Linked DNA regions of Homo sapiens: region 2 is linked to region 1. The links are contacts of gene promoters, found by promoter capture Hi-C in blood cells and fetal thymus (Javierre and others, 2016). All regions are on one chromosome and are shown on one strand. The core of a region is centred on a gene start or on the middle of the fragment in contact, and the rest is flanking DNA. Distances in the headings are between cores, read along the strand shown. Region 1 has its middle 17 kb from the start of ATRAID. Region 2 holds the start of TCF23 (transcription factor 23).

What was found. Contacts are between HindIII fragments. The CHiCAGO score rates a contact against its expected background, and 5 or more counts as called.
Region 2: the fragment with the promoter of TCF23 here is called in contact with a fragment that was not itself captured in region 1 in 1 of 17 cell types (M2 macrophages); the score reaches 6.4 in M2 macrophages.

What each region holds. Positions count from the first base shown.
Region 1 is chr2:27,192,002-27,197,469 of GRCh38, reverse strand. No RefSeq gene overlaps it. Among named protein-coding and RNA genes, the nearest start is that of ATRAID, 17 kb to the left of the region's middle. The HindIII fragment of the contact is 5,350 bases long and covers 601-5,468 here.
Region 2 is chr2:27,146,903-27,152,370 of GRCh38, reverse strand. TCF23 (transcription factor 23) reads right to left here and starts at 3,367. Exons shown (of 3, transcript NM_175769.3): 1 at 3,016-3,367; 2 at 2,006-2,248. The coding sequence starts at 3,237. The HindIII fragment of the contact is 12,568 bases long and covers 1,247-5,468 here.

The DNA.
Region 1 (5,468 bases), core at 2,026-4,525:
TCTTGCTGGAGTGCAGTGGCGCAATCTCAGCTCACTGTAACCTCCGCCTCCTGAGTTCAAGCAATTCTCTGCCTCAGCCTCCTGAGTAGCTGGGATTACAGGCACCCGCCACCATGCCCAGCTAATTTTTTGTATTTTTAGTAGAGACGGGGTTTCACCATCTTGGCCAGGCTGGTCTTGAACTCCTGACCTCGTGGTCCACCTGCCTTGGCCTCCCAAAGTGCTGGGATTACAGGTGTGAGCCACTGCACCTGGCCAGGCCTCACCTTTTATACAGCTAAAGAAACTGCTATGCCACCCCAGGACTCTACCAGGTGTCAATCTGAAATTCTTGCATTTTAACTATATTTGCATAGAAGAGGAAATAAGAATGCCACAGGATTAAAAACTTTCAAGAGTTATGATATTTAAGGGCAAGTGGCAAAAAGATCCAATTCGTACAACTTTCAAACCTTATAACAGAGGGCAAAGATGCTCTTTCATTTCTAACATAGTAAACCTTTTTCTTCATGCAGCATTTAAAAAGTACTGTTTGATGGTTATGAGGGTGTAGTCTAAGGCTTGGGTTCAAATACTGGTGCATGCATTTAACCTTAAGCTTCAGTTTCTTCATCTGTTAAATGTGAAATTCACAGGGTTAAGGACTCAAAACTATGTTGCGTGCATATATGTACATATATGTATATATGCATTCCTTAAATATCAGTTATTGTAATAATTATTCATTGTAGTTTTCAAAGCACTTTTCATATACTACCTGATATTATTCCTTGGGAAAGAAATACTTCCTATATCGCCTGCGTTTTTAATATATAAAGTAACTGGATTGCTTGGCTGGTAAGTGCTTGAGGCAGAGCTAAAATGAGGGTCTGTGACTCCCAGTAGCCCACCAAGTTGTATTTGTGTTGTCATGAAAACAATGTCCTTTTGGATAGGATATTGTTACCTGTGTTCACAGAGTGTTTTCTGGGACATCAGTCCCTAGTACAGTGAGGTGCTAAGTTGGCGGCGATGGTGCTATATCATTCTAGAATCTTCCTGGAGCAGTGGCTTGAAAACTTTTTTGACTGAGACCCACAGTAAGAAATATATTTTACATCATGATCCAACACACACATAAATTACATATATGTTTGTTTCTTTTTTTTTGAGACAGGGCCTTGCTCTGTCGCCTAGGCTGGAGTGCAGTGTCACCATCTTGGCTCACCATAACCTCTGTCTCCCAGGCTCAACTTGAGCAATCCTCTCACCTCAGCCAGGGCTACATGGGGAAGTAGTTAGCCAGGGAACAACCCATAACATGATGTGAAGAACTCACATCAATTACAAACAAGGTAGTTTGGAGCCATTGACTTGATTCATGCTAAGATGGCTGCAGTTTTACCCAGATTGCTTTTACAATATCAGTGCAAATATCCATAGAGTGAAAATGGCAAATTACATTTTAGTATTACCGTATAAGAAAACAGTTTTCCAATTTCATCCATGTCCCTACAAAGGACATGAACTCATCATTTTTTATGGCTGCATAGTATTCCATGGTGTATATATGCCACATTTTCTTAATCCAGTCTATCATTGTTGGACATTTGGGTTGGTTCCAAGTCTTTGCTATTGTGAATAGTGCCGCAATAAACATACGTGTGCATGTGTCTTTATAGCAGCATGATTTATAGTCCTTTGGGGACTGTTGTGGGGTGGGGGGAGGGGGGAGGGATAGCATTAGGAGATATACCTAATGCTAAATGATGAGTTAATGGGTGCAGCACACCAGCATGGCACATGTATACATATGTAACTAACTGGCACATTGTGCACATGTACCCTAAAACTTAAAGTATAATAATAAAATAAAAAAAAAAAGAAAACAGTTTTAACTTTAGCGACCCCTTGATGTCATCTCAGGGACCCCTAGGGTTTCGTGGACCACACTTTGGGAACTGTTGCCCTAAACCAGGAGACATACAAGAACTATCATAATAACACACTAACCTCAGGCCAGGCGCCATGGCTCACGTCTATAATCCTAGCACTTCGAGAGGCCAAGGCGGGCAGATCACTTGAGCTCAAGAGTTCAAGACTAGCCTGGCCAACATGGAGAAACCCCATTTCTACTAAAAATAAAAAAAAAAAATAAACGAAAAAATTAGCCATACGTGGTCGTGCACGTCTGTGAGCCCAGCGTGAGCTGAGATCGCGCCACTGCACTCTAGCCTGAGCAACAGAGCAAGACTCTGCCAAACAAAACAAAACAAAACAAACAAAAACATAACCCCAATCTGGAGACAACCCAAAAGTCCATACGATCTAGTGTTACGTGCTTACAGGGGTGCTATGTAGCAATGGCAAACAAATTAACCACAATCACACACATTGACAGAACAATGTTGATCAAAAGAGAGCAGTCACAGAAGGAAACACTATGATTCTCTTTGTTAAAGTTCAACATGGAAAAAATTAAGCTCTATTGTTCTTGGCCCCATAAGAAGGTGGTAAAACCATGAAAAAAAGGCAAGGCAATGATTAACCCCAGGGTCAGGATAGTGGCTCCTTGAGGGAAGAGGGTGGATGATGTGGTCAGGGATGAGCTTTAAAAGTACCAGCACTGTTGTAGCGGACATCATAGAGGTTCACTTCATTTATTTATTTATTTTCTCTTTGAGACGGAGTTTCGCTCTTGTCACCCAGGCTGGAGTGCAATGATGCAACCTCAGCTCACTTTAACAAACTAGCCAGCACGGGTTCAAGCAATTCTTCTGCCTCAGCCTCCCAGGTTCAAGCAATTCTTCTGCCTCAGCCTCCCGAGTAGCTGGGATTACAGGTGCCTGCCACCATGCCAGGCTAATTTTTGTATTTTTGGTAGAGTCAGGGTTTCACCACATTGTCCAGGCTGGTCTCGAACTCCTGACCTCAGGTGATCCATCCGCCTCGGCCTCCCAAAGTGCTGGGATTACAGGTGTGAGCCACTGAGCCCAGCCTAGATGTTCACTTTAAACATTACAAATATGTATGTATTAAATGTGTGTATCTCACGGTAAATATTTTAAATCAATTGATATCACATGATGATCACTGGCATTGCTGTCTATTTTCAATATATTATTAAGGAGAAAAAGCAAGATGCAGAATAACATATAATATGCTACCATTTCTAGTAAAAATGATGAGCAAAAGAATATGTCAGTACTTGGCTGGCCGCAGTGGCTCATGCCTGTAATCCCAGCACTTTGGGAGGCCGAGGCAGGCAGATCACAAGGTCAGGAGATCGAGACCGTCCTGGCTAACACGGTGAAACCCTGTCTTTACTAAAAATACAAAAAATTAGCCAGGCGTGGTTGCAGGTGGCTGTAGTCCCAGCTACTTGGGGGACTGAGGCAGGAGAATGGCGTGAACCTGCGAGGCGGAGCTTGCAGTGAGCCAAGATTGCACCACTGCACTCCAGCCTGGGCAACAGAGCGTGACTCCATCTCAAAAAATAAAATAAAATATGTCAGCACTTGTTTGCATATGCATAAACTATCTCTAGAGTACTATAGAAGAAACTAACAATGATCACTGGCTGAGAGAGGGGCCAGCAGGAAGGGAGACAGGGGTAAGAGGGGCCTGATCTCTTATCTCTGTATGCTTTTTTTTTTTAAATTCTTTTTGATTTAGACATGGCTATCACAGAATTTCTATGCCTTTTTATACAATTTATAAAGGATAATATTTTAGTATTAGTAATACAAGAACAATTCCAGTATTACTAATACTAAAATCAATCCCTCCCTCCCTTCCTTCCTTCCTTCCTTCCTTCCTTCCTTCCTTCCTTCCTTCCTTCTTTCCTTCCTTTTTCTTGAGACAGGGTCTCATTGTGTCACCCAGACTGGAGTGCAATGGTGCAATCATGGCTCACTGCAGCCTTAACCTCCTGGGCTCCAGTGGTCCTCCTACCTCAGCCTCCTGAGTACCTGGGACTACAGGTGCACACCACCACTCTTGGCTAATACTTTTGAATTTTCTTTGCAGAGATGCAGGTCTTATCTTACCATATTGCCCGGGCTGGTCTCAGACTCCTAGGCTCAAACAATCTGCCCACCTTGGCCTCCCAAAGTGCTAGGATTACAGGTGTGAGTCATTGCACCCGGCCAAAGTATTTCTTAAAGCCCTATACATCAGGAAATTTAAAAATACTCCTAAATAACATCTGCATTAAAGAGAAAATCACACTGGAAATTATAAATCCTTTAAAAATGTACTGCAGCTAGAGCATCACATAGCAAAAACTGTGGCTTTAGATGGGCTATCTTAAATGTTCAATAATCTGATGGGCAAAAAAGAAAATCTCATTTAATTTGCTTTGTTTGATTAGTATTGAGTTTGAGCACCTTTCTCTTTTTTTCTCTTTCTTTTCTCCTCCTCCTTTTTCTTCTTTTTTGATTTAGATTTTTCTGTCAACTTCCTGGTCACATCCTTTGTCAATTTAAAACATTGTCAGAACTCTGTATATGTTCTGAATAGTAATTTCGTCAACAGTTTTTTCCCCTCACTCCCTTTTCCTTTAAATTTGATTATTTTAGTATTTCTTTTAACTCAAGTTTTAAATTTTATGAACGCAAATCTCTCAGTCTTTTATAGCTCCCATTGTTTGTTTGTTTTTGAGATGGAGTCTTGCTCTATTGCCCAGGCTGGAGTGCAGTGGAGCGATCTCGGCTCACTGCAACCTCTGCCTCCCGGGATCAAGTGATTCTCCTGCCTCAACCTCTGGAGTAGCTGGGATTACAGGCGCACACCACCATGCCTGGCTAATTTTTTTTTTTTTTTTTTTTTTTTTTTGAGACGGAGTCTCACTCTGTCGCCCAGGCTGGAGTGCAGTGGCGCGATCTTGGCTCACTGCAAGCTCCGCCTCCCGAGTTCACGCCATTCTCCTGCCTCAGCCTCCCGAGTAGCTGAGACTGCAGGCGCCCGCCACCATGCTCGGCTAATTTTTTTTGTATTTTTAGTAGAGACGGGGTTTCACCATGTTGGTCAGGAGGTCTCCATCTCCTGACCTCGTGATCCACCCACCTCGGCCTCCCAAAGTGCTGGGATTACAGGCATAAGCCACCGTCCCTGGCCCAGCCACCGCTCCCGACCCAGCTCCTGGGTTTTGTATTTTGTTGAGGAAGGCATTTACTACCCCAATATTAATAAAATATAGTTTAAATATTTAATATTTCAACTTTTTTCTCTAAATGTTTAATCGTTTTACCACCTGTGTTTGATGTGATGGGGTAGAAGATTCAATCTAATGTTATTTTTTCCTTCAGTGGATAGCCAATTATTTCATACAATTTATTGAAAAAACCACTCTTCCTTCGAGACCTTAAATGCCACCACTATCATAAGCTACATTTATATTGCAAAATCGATTTATATTTATAAACTTTCTGTATATTTAGATCTACATTTTCATATATGGCAGGGAAAATTCCTACTCATAATCTTTT
Region 2 (5,468 bases), core at 2,118-4,617, 45 kb after region 1:
GCAGAGCAGCAGAGCCAGGAAAAACTCCAAGCTGGGTCCTCCAAGGTTTGCCCATCTTTCCAGCAGGAGCATGAGCAGTCCCAGAATACACCAGGTTGATTGCCCTGAGGTCGCCCTCCTGTTCACAACCTCTCCACCTGGGAGCTGAGGGAGCTGCTTCCTGGCCAACTGCCCCACCCTGTGGATGTGCTGGAGTGCTGGACCTAACCGGGCCCTCATTGGTTCATTCTTCAGCATAGCTGTTGATCACCTACTACAAGCAAGGGCCTTGCCTTGGTCACTATTTTACAGCGAAGGAAACTACTATATCATCCCAGGACCCTGCACCACCACTGACATTTCAGAGTTCCCCACTTAGTCTCAAATTTATACATTTTAGCTACATTTGCATTGAAGAAAAAAACCAAGTTTTAAGACATTTCAGAACTATGACATTTAGGGGAAAGAGGTGGTGAAAAGTATCATAAAAATAAAGTTGAGAGGTGAGAGGATCACTTGAGCTTAGAGTTTGAGACAAGCCTGTGGAACAAAGTGAGACCCCGTCTCTACAAAAAAAAAAAGAAAAAAAAAAGCCAGGTGTGGTGGCATAAGGCTGTAGTCCCAGCTACTGGGGAAGCTGAGGTGGGAGGATTCCTTGAGCCCAGGAGTTTGAGGGTACAGTAAGCTATGATTGCGCTACTGCACTCCAGCATGGGCGACAGTGAGACCCTGTCTCAACAATAAGTAAATAAATAAATAGTTGGGTGTGGTGGCTCACACCTGTAATCCCAGCACTTTGGGAGGCCGTAGTGGGTGGATCATCTGAGGTCGGGAGTTTGAGACCAACCTGGCCAAAGTGGTGAAACCCTATCTCTACTAAAAATAGAAAAATTAGCCGGGCATGGTGGTGCACGCCTATAATCCCACCTACTCGGGAGGCTGAGGGAGGAGAATCACTTGAACCGGGAGGTGGAGGTTGCAGTGAGCCAAGATTGCGCCACTGCACTCCAGCCTGGGCGACAGAGTGAAACTCTGTCTCAAAAAAATAATAGTACATATATAAATAAATAATAAAATAAAAAAGTTGATACCACTGCAATGTTATCCTCAGAGGGCAAAGATGACCCTTCCTTTTTAACACAGTGCACTCTTCAACCAGCTCCTTATGGCGCTGTCCCTGGAGACTGTTTAGTGGCTATGAGCTTAGGGTCTGAAGTCAGACACCCCTGAGTTCAAACCGCTTTCAGCCTCATAACCTCCCTAAGCTTCAGTTTCCTCATCTGTAAAGTAATCCTCATTTGGTTTTTGCATGGATTAAAAGACAAAAATACACTAACGTACTTAACCCAGCTCCTGGCCTATCTTTAGCACTCAACTGTTAGCTGTTATTGCAAAGATGATTAATGTTCATTAGACTTTCCATTTTGTACTCTGGAAGAGAAGTAAGGCTCATGTTAGCTTCTATTTTACGTGTAATAAAACTGAGGTTGAGAAAAGCTAGATTGCAGTCTGGCAAGTGGTGCGCGCCTTCCCTGTACTGCTGCCTGCTAACTCCCCCAGCTTGGTTGCTTCTAGAATGACGGTCCCTCAGACCGTTGTTCTCCTGGAGGACAGACCTCTCTTGCAACAGAAGCCTAGAAAGCACCAAGGCAGGCACAATGGGCTGAAGCTGCATGGGGATCTAGGACTCTCCTTGGTATAATTTCCTTTCCCAGGCCCCAGACTTGGAACCTGCTACATTTTTCCCTGTGACTCTAAGAACCCCAGAGTCTTTCCCTCCTCTTCAAGGAGGTGCATTCCCATGAAGCCATTTCCAGCCACACTCCCATGAGAAACCCAGGGTCAGCGCAGCCCCAAGGGTCAGCCTTGGCTCCTCTCCCTCTGAGACAGCAGGAGAAATTGGCTCCGACGTCAGTTCTGCACAGGGCAGGGGGCCCAAGTCCAATGTCCCCCCTCATTCCAATCCCTTTCTCCAAGGCCCTGGGCATTAAGATCCGCCTCTCAAGTCCCAGGGCTTGTGACTTACCTTGAGAGGGTGCAAGTAGCGGAGTCCACGCAGGAAGGGCGGCCAGGCAGGGCCAGGCAACTCGTGGCCGAGTGTGCGGGTGAGGTGGGCTATGTAGCTGGCGGCGAGCACCAGCACGTCCAACTTGGAGAGCTTGGTGTCGGGCGGCACGGCAGGCAGAGCAGCCTGCAAGGCCAAGAAGGCCTGGCGCAGCGTCCTGACCCGGCTCCGCTCCCGCGCGGCATTCTCAGGACTGGCCTCGCTCTGCACAGAGGGCCCCAGTGAGTGTGTGTGACCTGGACTCCCAACTGCCCTGACTTCTGAGAGCGTTTGAGCACAAGGTCTCCCACCAGAGTAGAAGGGTGTCTAGCAGTAGGCACCAGAGGGCCTCTGCCCACCTACGTCATCTGCAGCCCTGCCGCGTTTCACAGCTGAGGAAGTTGGGGGAAGGCCTGGCCAGGGGTCAGATGGCTGCAGGATGGCAGAGCTTGGCTCAGAACCCAGAGTCCTGTGTTCTCTCTACTACTCCACTCATGCCTCCTCAGAGCCTTTGTCCTGTCCCATGCCCAATCTGAATCCTGCTTATCAGGGTGTGCTGGGGCCAGGGGGAGTTCAGAGCTACACCCTGTTTGGGAGGGCGGACCCTTGACCTAGCCAGGTCCTGAGACGACGAGGCTGCTGTGGGAAAGAGGAAAGACACAGAACCAGGGGTCAAAGCACACAGGCTGAAGTCCCAGTCCTACCACTGGCTGCTGCTCAGTGACCTTGGGAAATTCACATCCCTCTTCCCGGCCTCAGTTTCCTCAAGAGAAGTGAGTTAGTGCAGCTCTCTGAGCTGCACTCTGGTTAAGACCAGCTCTGATCTATCCCAACTACCCAAAGCATGATGCCTTGGAGTCTAAGGGGCCAGTGTCCCCTCTCTTGGGCAGGAATGGTAATACTGAGTGAGGCTGTACCATCAGAGGTGACATCTCCCCACCTTCCAACCCCTTCCTCCCCTGGACCCCTCTGCAGGTGCAGGATTTCCTTACCCTGCCAAGAGCCAGGCCCCCAGCCCTGGTCCCTCGAGGGCCAGGGGTAGCTCTGCTCCATCTCTGGTTGCTCCAGCTTCTTTCTTCCCACGGGTCCTGCCTTGTCCTGCTGAGGCGGCTCCTCTTCCTGTCAGCGCCTGGCAGCAACCGTGCTTTGGCCTGAGTCTGGCTATGCCCCACCCCTGGCATGGCTGGTGGCCCTCTGGCCTTCCTCTGTGACATGCCACCCCACTGGGGCTGCAGCCCACAGAGCAGAAACACAGTGCCTGAGGAGGCCTTGGACTCAAGCTAGCTGGCTGTGGCTGGTCATCCAGCCAGCAATATCTACATCCGAGGAAGCTGGCGCCAACTCAGTCCTGTTTGCTCCCTGCTCTGGGAAAACCGCCCACCAGGCACAGCCCCCGCGAAAAGCCTCCGCCTGCCTCCTAACCCAGCTGAGAGGTGGGGGTGCTGGATGCTGGGAGTGGCCAAGCCTTGGGAGGAGGCCCATGCTGAAGAAGGCAGGAGGATAGTGGGGAAGGGAGCTCCTTTCCGGCCATGCCTAACCTCAACAGTGGTCCTATGGTGGACCTGTGACTTCCGCTTTGGAGCTCACGTCCATGGAGAGGACTTGAACCTCCTTCGTCTGTGCCAGAAGGCTGCCTGCATACATCCCTGAAAGGCCTTTCCTCCCCTTGCCAATGAACGTGACCTTCCAGCCACAGAGCGCGATTTGCCATGCCCCAAATATGCCTCCGATTTCCACTCTGTGTTTAAATTTACCTTTCCACGCCCCAGAATACCTTCCTCCAGCTCTGCCAGGAGGTACTGCCCATCCTTCAGGTCTCCGCCTTTCATTCGTGAAGACTTCAAATCCCGCAGGCCCAGAGCCCATGGGTCCCTGTTTGATTGGTACAATCACAGCCTGGCTACTTTCCCAGAAGTTCGATATTCATAGATTACTGTGTGCCAGGCACTGTGCTAAGCATCTTATTTATTTCTCAGAGCAACCTTTTAAGAAAAAAAGAGACTCAGTTTAGATGTGTGGGAACTGGTATACTGGGAGGTGAAATAACTTGCCCAATGTCAAACATCCGTTAAGTGGTGGGGTGGGATGAAAATCCAAGCCGTCAGTTGGACTTTGAAGGCTACCCCTCACCTGATGCTAGCCTGCCTCCCATGGGTTACTCACGCGTCTGTCCCCATGCTAGACATGAGGTCTCTGAAGGCAAGGACCATGGTGTTCCTGAGTTGCATCACATCCTCCAAGAGCTAGTTAGGAGAAGGCGGGCTGAAGGAATCGCGAATCTGCCACAGCAGCCCCTGCTGTCTTCCAGGGACCTCTGCCTGTAGCAGAATCCAGCCTGATGTCCCTTGTCCCCCATTCTCGAACCTCAGGGGAGATCAAATAAGTAAGGAGAAAGTAAAAAGGTGGATGTACAGTGAGAAAGATATGCAGCCCACCACAGAGAAAGGGAAAAAGAGGCCGGGCGCGGTGGCTCACGCCTGTAATCCCAGCACTTTGGGAGGCAGAGGCAGGTAGATCATGAGGTCAAGAGACGGAGACCATCCTGGCCAACTTGGTGAAACCCCGTCTCTACTAAAAATACAAAAATTTAGCTGGGTGTGGTGCCACGTGCCTGTAGTCCCAGCTACGCGGGAGGCTGAGGCAGGAGAATTGCTTGAACCCGGGAGGCAGAGGTTGCAGTGAGCCGAGATTGCCTGGGCTCCAGCCTGGGCGACAGAGCGAGACTCCATCTCAAAAAAAAAAAAAAAAAAAAAAAAAAAAGGAAAGGAAAGGAAGGAAGGAAGGGCCGGGTGCAGTGGCTCACACCTGTAATCCCAGCACTTTGGGAGGCTGAGATGGGCAGATCACGAGGTCAGGAGACTGAGACCATCCTGGCTAAGATGGGTGAAACCCCATCTCTACTAAAAATACAAAAAAATTAGCCGGGCGTGGTGGTGGGTGCCTGTGGTCCCAGCTACTCAGGGGGCTGAGGCAGGACAATGGCGTGAACCTGGGAGGTGGAGCTTGTAGTGAGCCAAGATCGTGCCACTGCACTCCAGCCTGGGCGACAGAGCAAGACACGGTCTTGAAAAAAGAAGGAAGGAAGGAAGGAAGGAAGGAAGCAAAGAAAGAAAGAAAGAAAGGTAGGTAGGTTAGTAGAAACAACCTGCATGTCCATCAGTAGGGAAGTCGTTAAATAAATTTTGGCATCTCCATACTATGAAATAATGTACAGTAATAAAAATAATGACAGCCCTTTGTTAAATGACATGAAAAACTCTTCAAAACACACAGTTGTGAAAAAAGCTAGTTGTAGATCAATATATATAGTAAGACCCCAGCCACGTAAAAAAATACACCAAAAAATAAAAAATAGAAATGTAAAGTTTTATGTGCTTATGTGAACATATAGAAAGGAGATGGAAAAGATGTGCATCAGGCCGGGCGCGGTGGCTCACGCCTGTAA